Regions from separate parts of the Homo sapiens genome. Here region 1 is linked to region 2. Evidence: promoter capture Hi-C in human tissues and cell types (Jung and others, 2019). All regions are on one chromosome and are shown on one strand. The core of a region is centred on a gene start or on the middle of the fragment in contact, and the rest is flanking DNA. Distances in the headings are between cores, read along the strand shown. Region 1 overlaps LOC107984406 (a long non-coding RNA gene). Region 2 holds the start of FEZ1 (fasciculation and elongation protein zeta 1).

Region 1 (3,158 bases), core at 359-2,858, 550 kb after region 2:
AAAAATAAATGGAAATAGATTTTATTTTAAAAAAAGCAGTAAGGCTTTCTAGATAACTATTTGGAGAAAGCCAAGTTATTCATTTGTGTGTGTTCAGCTATGATTATTTAAATTATCTACTATTAATAGTCACATTCTCTATATCCCAAATCTTTGGGGATAGCATATTACAGTGGAGAAAGGGGTTTTAGAGCTAAACTTGGGTTTATGTTCCAGTTCTGCAATTTACTATCTGTGGTCAAGTCACATTATCCAAGTCTTTATTTCTAGATATGTAACATATGTAATAACAATTGACCCTTGAGGGTTTGTTTGTGTTTTGTGAGAAGTAATGTTACATATGTAAAATATATCATGCATAATAGACTTTCAGTAAATGCTTGCTAACTTTTTTTTAGGAAGCAAGATAGAGTCATAAAACCTTAGAAGATTTTGATTTGTCTTCCCAGCATCCCTTCTCCCGCTTTTTCTAGTAATGGCCCCACCTGTGACTGTGGGGTTAAGTACATGGCCCAGCCTGGGATAGTGTTCTAGTCTCCTTGCTACAGTGATTGATCCAGAGCTGTGCATGTGACCTAAGCCATGGCCTTTTGCCAAGATTATTTTTTAACTAGTTCCATCAAGAGTCTTCTTCTCCTGCCCGCATGACAAGCTGCACTGTCCAATATGTTAACCACTAGATACATGTGTTAAGTTTAATTACAATTAAATGAAATTTATAATGTATTTCCTCAGTCCCACTAGCCACACGGGGCTAATTAATGGCTACTATATTTGACAGCACAGATATAAAATACTGTCTTATTTCCAATTATTCCTGCTCCCTGAAAAATTTTGTTACATAATGCAAGAAATTCTTCCCTTTTTGCTTCAGATAGTTCCAGTTGAACTTCAGTCACTTACAATCAAATGATCTTGACAAATCACATTCCTTAGTTTGTCGGGCCACAAACCAGATGCAGAATCTTGGAGGCCTGACTTTGGCATGGATCTTTAAACTAGACAAAGCCAAATCCTGTAAGTACTGCAACAAGGGGAAAATTGGGGGCTGTCTTCAAGACACCTCTGCTGACAACTTAGCTAGGGCCTCCTTTTAAGAAATGTGGTCCCTCCCCATATTGAATCCTGTGTATCACAAATCTATCTTCTTAGTGTCCCTGGCCTAACCTGTGGGGGCCCAGTTTCCCTTGCTTACTAAGCTTTTTTTTTTTTTTATGGTCCTGTCACCTGCCTGATCCCTTTTCTCACATCTTGTCTCAGAACTCTCCTTTTCCTACTTAGTTTTTACTTCTGGGCCTGGCTGAAGGCAACCTCTTTCAGGGGTACAGCATTATGAACACTAGACAGGAAGCACAGCTGAGTCTAAGCTGTGCCAACTTGCAAATGTGAAGGAAACCTCTTTCAGGGGTACAGCATTATGAACATTAGACAGGAAGCACAGTTGAGTCTAGGCTGTGCCAACTTGTAAAATGTGTGACTTGGAGCAGGTTATTTAACCTCTCTAAGCTTCATGATCCTCCTTGAAAAATGGAAAAAAAAATCCCACTGCACAGCGTTGTTAGAAGGCTAAATAAAATAATATTCTAAAAGATAATTTGTAAAGGGCAATGCAAATGTTTTATCAATTATACTTGCTTATAGATGTAGGTGCAGCCTTCCCAGCTATAATATATTTCAGCTCCTAGACAGGGATCCAGGGATGGTGTCGTCTATTACTTTTGAATGTGCCGCCTTCCTCCTCTTCCACATCCCACCACTTTTATTAATGTTTGGAACATAGAGTGTTCTTCACACAGTAGGCAATTATCAGATGCTGGCCAGCTGATTCCCATTTCTGAGCCTCCCTCTTTGGTAGGAGGGTGAACGACGGCAGAGGGCAGCGAATCCTTCCCCTGACACGGTTGGTGGGTGGACACCATCTGAGGATCTAGGAGAAGGGAAACAGTGAAGGCTTTCATGAGTTGGGGTGTAATTTGTGGCTTCCCCATGATTTTTCAACCTGTTTGTATTTAAGCACTGAAGCTTTACAAGAACAGAACTCCAGAGATATTCTCCAGAATGTCCTTGCTGCATCTTAAATAGGTCAGCAAAAGCTGGATCTTTCCAGCCCTTTAATACCAATTAATTTCTCCTCTTTGTTCCTCTGGAGAGTGGCTGAATAGAGCACGTTTAGCAACCATGGACACAAGCCTGAGTCCCTCTCACTTTCTGAGGAGGCCGGAATTCTATTCAAAAATCAAATATTTACTCTCAGTATAAAAGACTTTGATGTTCTCCTGTTTTCAGCAGAGAAATGGGAGCCCCTCCTTGCTGCCCTTCCAAAATTTACCCAGGACCCCATGCCACTCCCAGGATCATGTATTTCTCCCAACAAACTCCACATCTTGTGGAGACACCATATCTCTGCAGAACCCTTTTCATCTGAGTAACTCTTCATGTTTACAGAAATCTGCAGCCAGCAAAACCAATTTCAGGATGAAGGAGCCTTTTGACTCCATTTCTACTTTCTATTTGATGTTTTTCTGAGGCCCCCAGAGTAGGGCCACCTAGGAGAACTTTAGAAAGAGAACGAATAGAAAAGAAAATGTTCTTGGGGAGGGCCATTCCTCACTGTCCAGGCATACAGAAAGCTTGTTTTGTTCCGAAGGGAGCTAGCTAATCTGTCTCTTATTCAGAGCTTGCTGTAGGAGCTGGGCCCTGCCTCCTCTCAACACAAAGCCTCATACAATCTCGTTGTTTCCCAGGCAATGTGCTGCAGCTCTACAAATTCTCTGGCTGGTGTTTGCCTCCTGCGTCCTCTGTCCATTAGGAGAAATCAAACTTATGGTAGAGACAACACCAGTACCATTTGCATATAGATTTATACAACAAAAAATAAAAATGAAAATAACTTCATCACTAGGCCAGGCACAGTGGCTCATACCTGTAATCCCAGCAGTTTGGGAGGCCGAGGTGGGTGGATCACGAGGTCAGGAGTTCAAGACCAGCCTGGCCAAGATGGTGAAACCCTCCAACCTGGGTGACAGAGTGAGACTCCATCTCAAAAAAAAAAAAAAAAAAAGAAAGAAAGAAAGAAAGAAAGAAAGAAAGAAAATACCTTCACCAATACTAGAAGGCCCAAGGAGTGGGGAGAGAGGGCTGCTTCATATCCAGAGCTT
Region 2 (3,210 bases), core at 280-2,779:
AGGATGGTCTCGATCTCCTGACCTCGTGATCCGCCCGCCTCGGCCTCCCAAAGTGCTGGGATTACAGGCGTGAGCCACCGCGCCCGGCGGGCACTATTATTTTCTTCATTTTACAGATGAGGAAATGAGCCACAGGGAAGTTAACTAACCCAAGGTCACAAAACTGGGCATGATCCCAAGAAAGGAGATCTAGGGATCTTTTAACCAGCTACTCTTTGTGATTTATTTATTTATTTATTTACTTTTGAGACAAGGTCTTGCTGTCGCCCAGGCTGGAGTGCAGCTTCAACCTCTTGGGCTCAAGCGATCCTCCCACCTCATCCTCCAGTGTAGCTGGGGCTACCAGGATGGGCTACCAGGATGGGCCCACCATGCCTGGCTAATTTTTTTTTTTTTATAGAGATGGGGTCTCACTATGTTGCCTAGGCTGGTCTTGAACTCCTGGCCTCAAGTGATCCTCCTGCCTCAGCTTTCCAACATGTTGGGATTATAGGTGTGAGCCACCGTGCCTGGCCTTATGATTTCTTACAGGAAGACATCCTCTGTCTATTGCTCCCACAAAGGCAAATAGGCCAACGCTTCTTCTCATCTCATTGGGACATTATTCCTGTTTCCATCCTTCTCATGGTTGAAATGTCTGTGGAATGAATGCATAAACGAGCAAAAGAGACGCTCCCTGCCCCTTCCAGTTGAAGTCCTCAGTTCAGCCCAGAGGTACTTTGCCATCAGACAAAAGTACTTGGGGTTCTCCAAGCCGACATGCTTTTTCCAGTGCCTTCCTTCGATAATTACAGTTCTTGTGCTCTTAGTTGTGTGTATTCGTGAATTATTAGATTTTTTATTGACAACTTCTATAAGCACAGGCCTATGCACAGTAGACAAGATAAATTAATAATTTTTCACAAGACTCCAGGGACCCTTCTCATTTCAGCCTCTTGAATTTTCCTGTATTATCTCAAGTCCTCCTGGGCCTGAAACCTTCTCACTCAGATTTTTCAGCTGGATCCAGCTCCCACCCAGCATCTTTGGGCGAGAAAAGCTCTCCTGCCGGCCTCCTCATTTTTGGCTTGAGGTCCGAACCCAGTTGGAGCTGGGAGACGTCGCTGGGCCTGCCCGCCTCAGCCTCCAGTAGAGGAGAATGGGAAACTCGGAAAGTCCAAAAGGGTCTTTGAGTGTGTCTGCCGGCATCCGCCAGCAGCCATCGCCTGCATTTTATCCAGAAACTAGTGTCAGGCTTTGCGAGGTATCCATATTGGTAGTTATTGCACGCTTTCATCTTGGAGTTTCTGAATATTCATGAGGGAAGCAGAAAGGCCAATGTTAAAGAGGAGAGAAACAGAAATGCATAAATATTAATAAAGGCAAGCCCACGTGCTCGGAGGAAGGCTATGAATGTTAACGAGGGGATGACGTCCAGCTCCCGCGCGTGCCAGTTGGGTGGGTGCCCGAGCGCGGGCGCGCCCCCGGAGCCCGGGCACGAGCGCGGGGAAGGGGTGGGGTGGAGGCGGGAGCGGAGCCGGGCGCCGCCGGAGCTGCGCGGGGAGCGCTCGCTGGCTGGCTGGCTGGCTGGCTCTCCGCTGCGCTGCGCTGCGCTCCGGCCGCTCCCGCGGCCCGTGGATGGGGGTGTCCGGCTGAGCCCCGGGATCCGCCTCCCTCCGCCAGGACCCGCACAGGTGCCGTCGCGGGGGTTGACTTTAGTTAGGACCCGACTCACTGCTGGGGGTGGGGTCTGGTGGGGGTGGTAAGGAGGCCCCGGGATTCTCTGACAGGACGGTCTGGGGTCGCCGCAGCTCCCCTCACCTGGTCCCATTCTGGGATTAGAAAGGAACAACGGGAGGCCGTCGCCTTCCTGCCCAGCCCTTCAGGGAGCGCAGCTGGGACGCCGCGCCAGGCCCTGGAGATGTGGGATGATGGGCACTTCCAGTATCATCTCAGCATCGGCCCTCCAGCCAGGCCTGGTGTGTGTGTGTGTGTGTGTGTGTGTGTGTGTGTGTCCGCGTGTGTGTGCCCGCGTGTGTGCGCGCGTGTGAAGGCAGGGCGGCGAGGTATGGGGGCTGGGGGAAGAAGGGAACGCCGCCCGATCGCGCTGGGGCAGTGGGTCGGTACCTCGTCCCGGGACCGTTATCTGGTCCAGTCACCGTAAACGCCCCAAGATCATCTTTGTCCCTAAAAACTTACCCCCGACCCCGCTCGTGCCCCTCCCCAGAGTGCGGAGCCTTCCCCAGACCGCGCATTCCTGCAGTGTCAGAACCGCTGGCAGCGGCCGCAGACGCCGGGAGAGCGATTGTTTTACTACAGACGGGCGGGAGAAGGGACCGGGGCGGCTGCGCGGTGGCGGGGCGCGCTGCCGTCGGGTGGGCCCCGGGCTCTGGAATGCGGGGAGCAGTGTTTGACGGCGTCGAGGAGGTATCACAGCCCGCTCTTCTTCCCTTTTGCCTATCCCTTCTCTCCTCGCCGCTAGGCATCCCCGACTCTCATCCCTCTCCCGTGTCCGGGCTTGTTTGGCCGGAAGGGCAGTGGAGTGTGTATGCGGCCTGCACGGGATGAGTCCGGCTTCCTCAGAGTGCCAGCCATTGTGCTGCCTGGAGGAGGCTTTCTTTACCCCACCGGACTGGGGGGAGGAGGGGGATCTGAGATGGAGGTGAATGGAGCAGCGGGAGGAGGGGGAGGGGAGCAAGCAGAACCGCGAAGGGGTTGCTGATCCATATGCAACGAAATACTTTTTCTGTCAAAATGTGCACAAACATGCACACTGGGTGGGTTCTGCGGAGGAGCAGTGGGAAATCTGAAGGTGGATCAGTGCAGGGTAGGTTTTAGGGACGGATATGGGGGACGAGGCACGGAATCAGTTGATCTATGGACCAAGTGATGGGAAGAAGGAGATGGAATGGGGCTTGTGTGGAGGTGCCGAGGCCCAGCGGGGTTAGCGTGGTGAAATCTCCACCGCTCCGCTCCACTCGGGTCAGCTCAGCAAAGCAGGGACTGAGCATTTGTACCGCAGCCCCGAGATGCAGCGAGTGCATCATTGTGCTGCAGGGAGACGTTTATGCGTTTCCTACTGGGTCTCTGTTAAGCCCCGTGAGTGTCTTTTCTTTTCCAAATTACACCATCTATTGGGAGTGAAAATAAATGGAATAGATTGTAGGACAATCAGACTATAGTCCTGCGCTCTGTTCTGTGGTAAAGAGAAAAAGAAAAGGCGACCCTCCC

Evidence for each region. Contacts are between HindIII fragments. The study calls those that stand out against the background at their distance.
Region 1: a fragment that was not itself captured here is called in contact with the fragment with the promoter of FEZ1 in region 2 in 2 of the 25 tissues and cell types used here (dorsolateral prefrontal cortex and hippocampus).

Annotation. Positions count from the first base shown.
Region 1 is chr11:124,942,169-124,945,326 of GRCh38, reverse strand. It overlaps LOC107984406 (a long non-coding RNA gene), which reads right to left. Exons shown (of 2, transcript XR_001748429.3): 2 at 1,737-1,927. Among named protein-coding and RNA genes, the nearest start is that of HEPACAM, 7.7 kb to the right of the region's middle. The HindIII fragment of the contact is 2,603 bases long and covers 307-2,909 here.
Region 2 is chr11:125,494,584-125,497,793 of GRCh38, reverse strand. FEZ1 (fasciculation and elongation protein zeta 1) reads left to right here and starts at 1,529. Exons shown (of 10, transcript NM_005103.5): 1 at 1,529-1,673. It overlaps LOC403312 (putative uncharacterized protein MGC39545), which reads right to left and starts at 2,580. Exons shown (of 2, transcript NR_164146.1): 1 at 2,179-2,580; 2 at 1-1,286. RefSeq lists a silencer at 1,342-1,591 and enhancers at 1,466-1,967, 1,968-2,471, 2,974-3,210. The HindIII fragment of the contact is 6,934 bases long and covers 1-3,210 here.